2 separate regions of the Homo sapiens genome follow, and region 1 is linked to region 2. The links are contacts of gene promoters, found by promoter capture Hi-C in human tissues and cell types (Jung and others, 2019). All regions are on one chromosome and are shown on one strand. The core of a region is centred on a gene start or on the middle of the fragment in contact, and the rest is flanking DNA. Distances in the headings are between cores, read along the strand shown.

The links. Contacts are between HindIII fragments. The study calls those that stand out against the background at their distance.
Region 1: a fragment that was not itself captured here is called in contact with the fragment with the promoter of RAB31 in region 2 in 1 of the 25 tissues and cell types used here (heart left ventricle).

The regions. Positions count from the first base shown.
Region 1 is chr18:10,531,987-10,537,944 of GRCh38, reverse strand. It overlaps NAPG (NSF attachment protein gamma), which reads right to left. Exons shown (of 12, transcript NM_003826.3): 3 at 5,150-5,234; 4 at 4,392-4,409; 5 at 3,449-3,479. Among named protein-coding and RNA genes, the nearest start is that of NAPG, 8.9 kb to the right of the region's middle. The HindIII fragment of the contact is 3,043 bases long and covers 675-3,717 here.
Region 2 is chr18:9,704,917-9,710,453 of GRCh38, reverse strand. RAB31 (RAB31, member RAS oncogene family) reads right to left here and starts at 2,153. Exons shown (of 7, transcript NM_006868.4): 1 at 2,010-2,153. The coding sequence starts at 2,048. It overlaps LOC124904244 (a long non-coding RNA gene), which reads left to right and starts at 2,482. Exons shown (of 2, transcript XR_007066281.1): 1 at 2,482-5,537. LOC105371981 (a long non-coding RNA gene) reads right to left here and starts at 1,782. Exons shown (of 2, transcript XR_935131.2): 1 at 461-1,782. RefSeq lists silencers at 1,559-1,788, 1,889-2,458. The HindIII fragment of the contact is 12,091 bases long and covers 1-5,537 here.

The DNA of each region.
Region 1 (5,958 bases), core at 947-3,446, 830 kb before region 2:
ACAAATTCATTAGGATACCCTTAACAAAACTGGTCTCATTTTCGCCAACCCCAAAACATAACTTTATTATTTAGCTATGGAAACTAACAATAACACAGACTGAAAGACACTGTATGAAATAAGACTGCTATCATTCACTCAAGCAGAATGAAATGCTAATGCATTTCCAAACCTCAGTGAAAAAATAAAAACAATACTTTTTTTGTTATAAAACCAAAAGTCAATGAAAGAATCCGAGTCTACAATATCTGCTGAAAAATATCTGAATGAACAGGGGAGGTAAACCTAACAAAATCTCTCTCAGACACATTAGTCCTGAGGGTCATTTTGGCTTTTAAAGAATACAACTGAACCTTGAACAGCAGAGATTTAAACTGTGCTGGTCCAATTATACGCAGACTGTCTTGCTCCTCTGCCACCTGAGACAGCAAAACCAACCCCTCTTCTTCCTCCTCCTCCTCTTCCTCCTCCTCAGCCCAAACGTGAAGACTATGATGAGGATGAAGAGCCCTATGATGCTCTACTTCCACTTAAAGAACACTAAATATATTTTCTCTTCCTTACGATTTTCTTAATATTTTCTTTTCTCTAGCTTTATTCTAAGAATACAGTATAAAACATATTCCATACAACATACAACATATGTACTAACTGACTGTTTATATTATTTATAAGACTTCCAGTCAGTAGTAGGGTAGTGGCTCACGCCTATAATCCCAGCACTTTGGGAGGTTGAGGCAGAAGTATCACTTGAGCCCAGGAGTTTGAGCCCAGCCTGGGAAAAACAGCGAGAACCAGTCTCTACCAAAAAAATTAAAAAATTAGCAGGGCATGGTGACATGCACCTATAGTCCCAGCTACTCAGGAGGCTGAGGTGGGAGGATCGCCTGAGCCCAGGAGGTTGAGGCTGCAGTAAGCCATGATTGTGCCACTGCAATCCAGCCTGGGCAACAGAGCAAGATCCTGTCTCAAAAAAAAAAAACAAAAACAGGCTATTAGTAAAGTTTTTGGGGAGTAAAAAGTTATATGTAGAGTTTCAACTGCACAAGGGGTTGGCATCCCAACCCTTGGGTAGTTCAAGGGTCAACTGTATTTCCTCCCCAAATATACCTACCCACTAATTACATATATAATGTGAATCTACAACATAAAAGCATTTGGGAGGATAAAAAAACCACAGGAACTATTCGTCATGAGTTTTACCCAGTAGATAGAGCAAAAAATACATTAGAAGGCAGTAAAAATGGCATCCGAGTCCTATTTGTTGTTTAAAAATTAGCAACTACATCTTCCTGTTTTTGCGTAAAATCAAGTGAGGCTGTGAGTAAGAGGTCCAACCACAATATTGATACTTCTCCATAAAAAATGATGAGCTGCCTACTTGAAAGTTATACCCTCCACCATAAATATGCCTATTTTCAATGGCTGTGTGCCAGTGGAGCAAACAGGATATGAAATCACAGCAGTCATCAAGTGACAGAACCAAAGGTTGATCCAACAAGTTTCTGTGGCTTCCCTTGTGCATATGTCTACAAAATGGCACTCCCCAAGCCTTTCTGGTGAATCAGTGTGAAGGTTTGTATGACAAATTGGTAGAAATTTTAGCCCACAGAATTGTGGACCACGTAGCTCAGGGGTCCTGTGCTCCCAACAGTGTCCAAAGGCATTTAATTTAAATATAAGACAATGCCAGAAAGCATTTTCCTTCATCTGTTTCCCTATCCACTAAGTTAATTTTCTTTCATTCAAAGTAGTGCCTTTCCAACCCTCAAATTAAATAGATACTTGAGCAATGGAAATGATGCCTGAATAATAACTTTTGATGAAGATTCAAGTCTTAGTACAGCTGTTGTAATATAAACTGAGGCTGTGAGAATTAGAGTGTTTGAGCATTTCTTAAACAGGCATGAAGTACACTAAGAATGTAACAGCCACCTGGGAGCTTCCTAATTCTCAGAGGAAAATGAGACATAAGAAGACCAGAGCAGATCCCCAGCTTCTTTGGCCGTAAGAGAAACTCTATGGTTTCAAAGGAACTGTGGTTAATAACCTAACTTGCGGCACCAAATACCAATTCAGTTGCATGTTTGGCCAGAAAAGCTTTATTTCAATGGATATATAATAGTTTATAATAAGGAAGCATCATAATTTATTTAAACACTTTCCTATTATTATTATTACTTTGAGACAGAGTCTCGCTCTGTTGCCCAGGCTGGAGTGCAATGGCACGATCTCGGCTCACTGCAAACTCTGCCTCCTGGGTTCAAGCAATTCTCCTGCCTCAGCCTCCCAAGTAGCTGGGATTACAGGCGCCCGCCACCATGCCCAGCTAATTTTTGTATTTTTAGAAGAGACAGGGTTTCACCATGTTGGCCAGGCTGGTCTCGAACTCCTGATCTCAGGTAATCCACCCACGTTGGCCTCCCAAAGTGCTGGGATTACAGGCATGAGCCACTACATCCAACCTCACTTTCCTATTATTCAAAATTTAGATAATTGGCATTTCTTCAAGAAACAACCTGATGCATAAATCTTTGATCTCTCTCTCTCGATGATAGACTCACAGAATTGAAATTCCTGGGTCAAAGACTATAAAATCTTTTAAACTAAGTATGTTAACAGCTATTACTAACATTCTTTAACTTTTCGGTATTTTTTATTGTCTACAATGAGCATGTGTTCACTAAAAAAATGAGTAAGTTCACATTATAAAAGTCATAGAAATTAAAAACAAAAGCTTTACTAAGGTAAAAGTTCTTAAAAACAAAGCTTTATAATAAATACTTGAAAGTAGCTTTTACCATTTTAGAAAAAAACATTTTTAAAAAAGAAAGACAAATACTTCATTTCAACTGCCAGCTGGCATACTTTGAAAGTCAGCATCATAAAGTAGTATGTTCTGTCTCACCACAGCAGGACATTAATTCCTGGCCTGCTTTTGAGGAGCAGAAGTACAAACAGTGGCACAGGTACATTAGTTGGAATATTCCATGCAGAATGAATTAAAGTAGCAAAAGCTTAAATCTGTGGTTGTTTCTGCTGCCAACTGTTATTCACATAAGTAAAAATCTCTTCTATAACCCATGTATGATAATTTTTTAATATTTATAAAATTTTACTACATTTAGATGTCCTTCTCAAAAGTAGAGAAACTTCCCATAGAGCTCTTTTTATAGCAATACACATCTATCCTGGTTATAGAGCTTAGAACATTAGTGTTCCCAGTTCACTCCAATACATTTTCTCTTAAATTTCACTTTTAACATTCCTTAAGACGTACAGAATGTATTCTATGGGTCCAATTAACGTTACCGTGGACAGAAAATCTTAACTTAGCACCTCTTGCCTTACAGTAAGGAAGCTTTTCAACTTCAACAAAAATTCTTGTTTAACACCTTGTAGTTAATTCATTTTACCTACACAACAATTGTGACATAACATTACTGACCTTCAACATCATTCCAGCTTGCTCATAAGCTCTGCAAAGAGAATATAATTTCTCTGATGAGATCTTAACGAAATAAGGGGTAGAAGAAACTTTCTGGTGAGGAACTACTGGTAAGGAAAGTGACTTCAATTACAATGGGCTCATGCACAACATATCACTTCAGGCTTATATTACCACACAATATAATTTTTTATTCTTTTTTTGTGGGGAATAATGGCTTAGAACATCAGACATTTGAGTTAAAGAGATTTTATTTTGCAGATGCAAAATTAAGTAAGGCTCAGTAAGGTTAAATTAATTTCCATCTGACAAACCTAAACCTAAGTTTTTTTGTTTGTTTGTTTGTTTTTGGGATGGAGCCTTGCTGTGTCGCCCAGGCTGGAGAGCAGAGGCACGATCTCAGCTCACTGCAACCTCCATCTCCCAGGTTCAAGCAAGTCTCCTGCCTCAGCCTCCCCAACAGCTGAGATTACAGGCACGTGCCACCACATCCAGTTAATTTTTGTATTTTTAGTAGAGACGAGGTTTTTCACCAAGTTGGCCAGGCTGGTCTTGAACTCCTGACCTCAAGTGATCCGCCTGCCTCGGCCAACAAATAACTACTCTCCACAAGGCAAGAGAAAGCTTCCTGCTTCATCTCCACAGGCACCATTAACTATCAAACAGAGGAAAAAAGAGATCCTAACTTATTTTTTTCCCATAGGCTACTGAACAAAATGCTCCTAATAAAATATTATGGCAAATTTAATTTAAACTCTTTACATCTTACAGTTAGGAGTAAGTCTTGGTTTTTAAGGTTTAGGTAAAAACTGAAGCAAAGAGAAATGATTATTATTTAAATCAATACAAAATTTATAATTTGGGAAAAAATTACCAACCTACAGAAAAACAGCAACATTTAAAACATAATTTGCAAATACATGAAAACATGAAGAATACTTACTTGGCAGCATGAAAAAGACTGAATGGAAGTAACGAAGTCAAAGTTAAGGAAAAAAGAAAAAAATCAATAGTTTCTATAGATCAACTATTTAAAGACAGTTAACTAAATCACTGACCCAGTTGGTTCCAAAAGACAAATCCTACAAACAGGTAAAAAAGAAGTAATTCAATACCTGTCAATATAGTTTAAAACTACATAATTCCCAAAACCACTAACAAAACACTGCACAGATTTTAAACTATTTCTATTACGCAATAATCTGAAGTTTTACTGAAGTACAAAGTTATTATGACTACAGTTTGCAAATAAGAGAAACATTTTTTATTGATAAGTTTGCAAACACCTCAAGAAAATGTACTGTTTTAAACTACTTATAATTTTTATTTCAAATACCTAAGGAAAACTGTATTTAAAAAAATTGATACAGTAGTTCACGTGTTTTCAATACCTGTGCTACTTCTTCATTCTTCAGCACATGTCTACAGATTTACTTTACTTCATCCCAAGTAAAACCATCATCAAGTAAAATCACAAACAATAGAAAGTAAGTATTGTAGCTCTGCGAACCAGTGTGGACCTTATAATCAAACTTCATTATAAACGCTCCTTCATAGTTTAAAAATACAGAATTTTTCTAATCATTTTCTAATTTAAAAACATTTTACTTCACAGGTAGTAAAGTAAATTTACAGCAAGAGAAAACAGCTTGTCAAAATCATCTAATTGTTTAATTTCTTTTTAAAAGTTGAAAAAGATACGCCCTATTATTTTCATGGGCAACAGCTTCCCTCAGGCAGGCATCTTTTGCTTGCTCAAACTGTTTGGCATTTTTAAAAGCAACAGCTGAAATAGAAAAAAAAATTGACTATTTCCATCATTAAAAACCTCAAATGAATCATTACTGAAATCTGCATTTTATATGAAGTATTATAAACATACTTACTTCAAATACTTAGGAAGTATCCTAAAACTATAAAATATTACTTTTTTCTAAAGCAATTTCCTTACAACTTTTCCAATTATTGGTAACTTACGAGTATTTTTAAAACTTTTTCTTTTTTAATTGTTGACTACTGGCAACAAATCAGTGTTTCTTCCACTCAAAATCAAGAAGTCTTTCTAACACCAACACTCCCCAATACTCCCCAGTAACCGGCAGATTCTTCAGTCACAAAAGACAGCACCTTACTTCACCAGTTTTACCTTTAAACGGTATTTTGGGTATAGGTCATTCGATTAGGTAGAAACTGAGGGCCAATAAGCACATTTAACAGTTTTTTATAATAAACCTTCCTTTTGGCACAATCTTTAAATGTCTAACAATGCATTTTTTTAAAAAAACAATCTTTTATACTGTTTACTATCTATGAAAAAGATGTCTCACTGTTCAAACAGCTAAAGCATACTGAAAGCTGTTTTAAAAGTGTAATCATCAAAACAAAACAGGAGTGCTTATAACATATGATCTTACAAATTTTGGAAAACTTATCAAGGGTTGCTTACAAAGAAGCAAAAAGCATAATGCTTTAAGAAAAGTGCTATTTGTTAAAAACACTCTTAAAATTCT
Region 2 (5,537 bases), core at 904-3,403:
TGTCTGCAGGAAGCCACTCAAAGAGTGTGTATCTTTCTTGGAGATAAAAGAAGTAAAGAGATTTCCTCCAGCTTCCTCCTCTCCCAGGTTTGCTAATTGGCACCCTGAACTCATAGATTAGCAGGAAATGGTAACATGTATCTTAAGAGATCATCTGGTGTAGTCCTCTGCCTAAAGGGGGAACATGTTATTATGCCCATTTCATAGATGAGGCCACTGAGTTGCTTTGCTAAAACGACACAGCTCTTTGGTGGGAAAGAACGAGAGCCTAGGTTTCCTGCCTCTTGACACAGGGTTCTTGCCACCTGATCAGTGTCCTGGTAGGAGGACATAGAGACCTGTCCCTAAACACCGAAACTGAAAATAAGGGGTCCTGTGACACGGCAGGGCTTGGACCACCTCAGTAAAAGTCAAGAGAAAAGAGTTGCAGAAAAAAAGGCAAAAATATGTCCTATTTCACCTTTCCCAAGGCCAGTCCTGACAAACACGGCACATCAAGGCTGCCTCTTCATTCCTTGGAACACGACATTCCTTCTAAGTCTCTGAAGGCCTTTCCTGAGGCTGAAATGGCCCCTCAAGAGGGAAGCATGGGATTCCTGGAATTTATGTCTGGAAATATTAGAGGGCCTGGGGAACAGGAAAACCCACTCCTGCCACACAAAAAGGTCAACAGAGAAAGACCAGACTAGATCCTGGCTGTGGCTGAGCAAGTCGGGGGAGGTGGGGATCTGTGCGGATCTGTGCCAGGGGCTAGCAGGGAGGGCAGGGCCTTCCCAGATCCTCTGGAATTCTAAGCCAACCGGACAATCGAGTTAGCGTAAGGGATGGTTTTGGAAGAGGCCGGTGATGGGAGCCGATGATGGGAGCCTGCCGGAGGTTCCACAAGAGCCTAGAGGAAGCCTAGAGACGCTGGCACAATTCAGTCCTCACCGAAATCATTTCCTCTTTCTACAGTTCTTGTACCCCCATCTTGACAGATCAGTTCGCACAAGAATGCGACCCTTTCGCTGCCCTTTTTTAGGAAATGGTTTTCATGAGACCAGCTTTGCCAATGACACGGGCGGGTACACCAGATGCTAATGGCTGCTGAAAACGCCCTTAGAACCGGCTCTTCTTTTAGAAGAAGGAATTCTGGAATGCGGAGTGGGCCCCCGAAAGGAAGCGACCCTACGTTTATCTGAATTCCCAGGGGCGGTTCGCCAGCGGCTCCCTGCGTCCTCGCCGGGTCCCCTGTCTGCAGTCCCCGGGCCGCACGGATTGACTGCTTTTTTGTTTCTGGCTGCTTTAAGGCTTCTTCGGGCGGAGAAAACCCCACTTTAGGGGAGTGATGGTGGGGAGGACTTTCCCAGGCAGCTTCTTTCACCCGCAGCAGGGAAGTTTGCAGGGCGCGCTCCGCACAGGTCACTGCCTCACCTTCCACCCCGGCCGCGCCCTCGGCTTTCACCCCCTTGGCTGGGTTCGCTTTTGGTTTTATTTTTCTGTTTTACGTGAGTAAATCAATTGCCCCCAGGAGGCAAAAGAGCACTCAGCGACTTGGCTGAGCAACTTAAACTTTCTGCCGGAAGGAAACTATCAAAAGCGGAGGAGAAAGCCCTCGGGGCCCCAGACTCGCCGCCACTGCCCCGTCCCCGCTGGGGGTCCCCGCGAGGTCGCCGCGGATCCGGGGACTCGCGGGCCGGGAGGAAAGAGCGGAGTAAGCCCGGGGCAGGCTCGGACCCGGACCCCGGCAGGGTGAGAGCGGGGGCGGACCAGAGGGGCGCACGGACGGCGGGGAGGCGGAGAACAGGCGGGGTGCGGAGAGCGAGGGGCGCGGAGAGCGAGGGGCGCACGGACTAGGGGAGCCAGGGGGACCCGGGGAACCAGGGGGCGCGCGGACGAGGGGGACGGGGGCTACGAGAGGGGTGCGGAGAGCGAGGGGATCACGGGGACTGAGCGCGCAGGGAATAGGGGAGCGAAGGGGCGCGAGAGCGCGGGCCGGGGTCCGCCGGCGGGTGGCGGCCAGGACTCACCCCGAGAAGGCACACTTTGAGCTCCCGTATCGCCATCATGTGCTCGCAGCCAGGCAGTGCCGGGGCTCAGCAGCATCCTCCGGGGCCGCCGCGCCCGCGCCCCGCCGGCGTCTCTCGCCTCTGCCCCTCGCTCGCGCCGCCCGCGGGCGGAACCGCCGCCGCTGCTATTTCTGGGCCGCCGGCCCCGCCGCGGTGGGTCACGTGGCCGCCGGCCGGCTCCTCCCGGGCGCGTCGGGTCCAGCCTCGCCGGCCCCCAGCTCCCAGGAACGCCCCCGGACGGCGTCAGCCACCCGGGACCTGCGGCGTCGCCGGCGGATTGCCTCCGCCCTCGGACCAGCCCCGCGCGGGTCGGCCTCCCCCAGCGCCCTCCGGCATCCGCCCCTCCCGGCCCCGCCTGGCCGCAGGGCCCGGGTGGGTAGGAAGGACTGGACCGGCCCTGTGGAGACCTGGCCCCACTACCAGCGGGTCCCTGAAGATGCCATTCTCATCTGGAAAGCGAATGCTCTCGGCCGAGGCCGTTTGCGTGGCAGCGCGTGGAGGTCTGCGGGGGTCCCATCCTCAAGCGACATTCTGGGTCCCACGCAGAAAAAGTCAGGCCACTGAAGGGGCCGCTGTGAGGACAGGGGTGAGGAGAAGGGGGCTAACTTTTCGGCCTGCCTTTCTCGACGTTCCTAATACCCGAGCTTCCGTTTAACATATGTGTGGCTCTTCAGCTCAGCCAAGTTCATTTTTCTGTATGCAGCTGAAAATGATTCTAGAAGCAAAACTCGCTGTCCGTGTCTGAAACGGGAAACTTGCTTTCTGGAGCAAAAGTCTTTTTCTCAGTAGAGCAAATCCTGCAACTCGTGTGGGCAGAAACCCAGTCCTCAGAGGTACAGGTAGAAACGTGGAGATCCCAGCAGACCCCTGCATCGTTCCTAACTGGGAAATGAGCAGAGTCTGTGGCCGCACACAGTCGGGGAGGCTTGGGTAACTGTGTTCTCTTCTCCATGTATGGCCTAGAGCACCTCATCCACTCGGATGACTTCATTCGTTGCTGCTACAGAAATGTCAGCCTTTTCAATGTAATCTATCTGAACAATTCACTGGCATTTCAGATGGGAAATGTTTTTTTAAAAACTGATTTTTTGAAACTTCATCTCCTATCCCAAACTCTCAGGCCTCTCTCTTAACCTTCCAATTTTAATCAATGGCATTTCCATTCTCCTAGCAGACCACCCACCGTGATCATCTGGCTTTGTTCTTACGGAAGCCAGGTTGAAGCTACCCAGTACCCAAGTAGCCCCATCCAATGGGAAATTCCAAATCAAGGCCTCCAAAGAGATAAGTCCTGGAATACAGGAGTCAAAATGGGCCCCGAAACAGACAATTCACAATTAAATTCCCCAGAAGAGCAGGAAGTTTGCCCTCGAGGTGCAGGCTTGTAGAGATTACTCAAATGGACTAAACTGTACAAAAGGCAGCCATGGACAAGTTACAGGTCCATTGTATCAGTATCCGTCCTTGACTCTGTATCCAAAGCAGAGTCTTCTATGTGGGCAGGGTAAAAAGAGGCTTCCCCAGAATCAAACAGTCCTGATCACAATATCTCCCTGCCCTCAGATTTGCTAATCAGAAAACCACCCCTACACAGTTGCAAAGACACCTCCCCCAAGGCCTTCGCCAGCCCTGAGGGCACCTCCACAGTGAAACATGTCCTTTTGGCTTTCCAGCTTGATTCCCAAAAGCCAGTCAAACCAGGGTGGAAGCCTCCACTGTGTTCTACATCCCGTGCAGTGAGTGGAGCTTTGTGAAGTTGCCTTAGATTGCTAAGGGCAGAACTGTGCCCAGACAGAAATAGGCAAACCGAATTTCTCTTGTGTTCCCTTACTCTTTTTCATGACTGCTCTCATTCTGCTCTCTTCTCCACTAGCCCGGGTGTCTGGGACGCTTGCGTCGTTTCTAGGCTCTCCCAAAAGAGTCTCGTATCCAGCCCTTCCCTCCCTGAGAATCGCCCCAGTCTATTTGTCCTTCTCCCCTCCCCTAGTTCTGTTAAAAATGACCTCATTTGTGTCTCATTCTGATCAGGTCTTGGGCTCTTCTTTACAAAGTGGCAATCCTAGTCTGTCAACTGACTCGTGTTCATGGGTTTATACCCTCTTCCCAGCCAGGTCACCCCTGAGCTTAAACATGGCCTCATGAAAACCAGGTCCCCATGATCACCCTAAGGTAACCTACAAAGCTCTAGCCCTGGAAGGCAGGAAGATGACTGCTGGGAGACATATTTTAAGAGTGACACGTCAGAGGCAGCTCTCGACTTTTTAAAAAAGTGCCATGTTCTCTATTGTTACACTCTATGATTACTGTACTAAGGGCCCATCCTGACTTCTCTGGAATTTTCTGCAAATATGTAGTTCTGGTGTAACTTCAGCAGGGGTAAAAATTCAATGGTACATAACTGACAATTTATCAAATTAAGAAATAGAACATGCAAGTTTTTCTTATAAGAATTTTGTAACGTAAATGGTCATTGTGCTAATTCAGACCTCAACTTCTCTGCTGCTATAAAGTCTCCAACAGAAAAAGCCAGTAATGGTCATAAAACTGATCATGTTTTTTGATTCAGGAAATCCTTTTTTGAACAATAACATACAAAGACGAAAAGTAAACAAAGCTGCCTGTTTGAATATAAACACATATGCAGACAAAAAAAACAAATAAATGGGTTAGAGAAACAACAACAAAAAAATTACATCCATGGAGGTAAAGGGAGGATTGTTGCGTTAATTGTAACTCAAACCTCTTAACACTTGAGGAATGATTAAGCAAGCTAGGGTGTCGTTACTGGGTATATTTGATGGTGTACAATAGTATATGTTACTTAGATATTAAATGAAATGTGTATACTATGTAGATTTATAGAGACGTTTATAGTAAATAAGGTTCTGTGAAAATAATATGACTCAAAATGTTAAATAGGATAAGCAATATAAATGTGTCACAACGCCCTGGAGTGCAGGCTGATCCCTGGAGACCAGTACTGAGTCATCTGGTCTGCTCAAGGGCCAATTAAGGAAAGATAAAAATGTTTACAAACCTTGTTTTTCATAATTTATCTTTTTTATGGAACTATAGTGTCTGCAATATCAGTTAAACAGCCTTTTAGTATTTCTCATTTATGTAACAACTCCTTCCTTCCTTCTTTCCTTCCTTCTTTCCTTCTCTTTCTGAAACTTTCTAAATAGCATGTGCTACCTAACCTTATTTGTAACCCACGCCCTTTAAACAAATTTTGAGGAGATGAATCCTGGACATACCAGGGTAGGAAAGGGATTTGAGGGATTTAGAAAAACAGAGGTGAGTGGACCCCACAATTCACCCACAGACTTGAAAAAGGAGACAATAGCTGGAGGGGGGAGGCTGGAAACTGAAGGAGCCTGTCTGTGGGAAAGGGAGCGTCCCTGAGAACCCCAAGGAAGGTGGCTGCTCGGTGGAGGGGCTATTAGGTAAGCGGATAGAAACTGCACAGCCTCCTTTGCAATTCCAGAT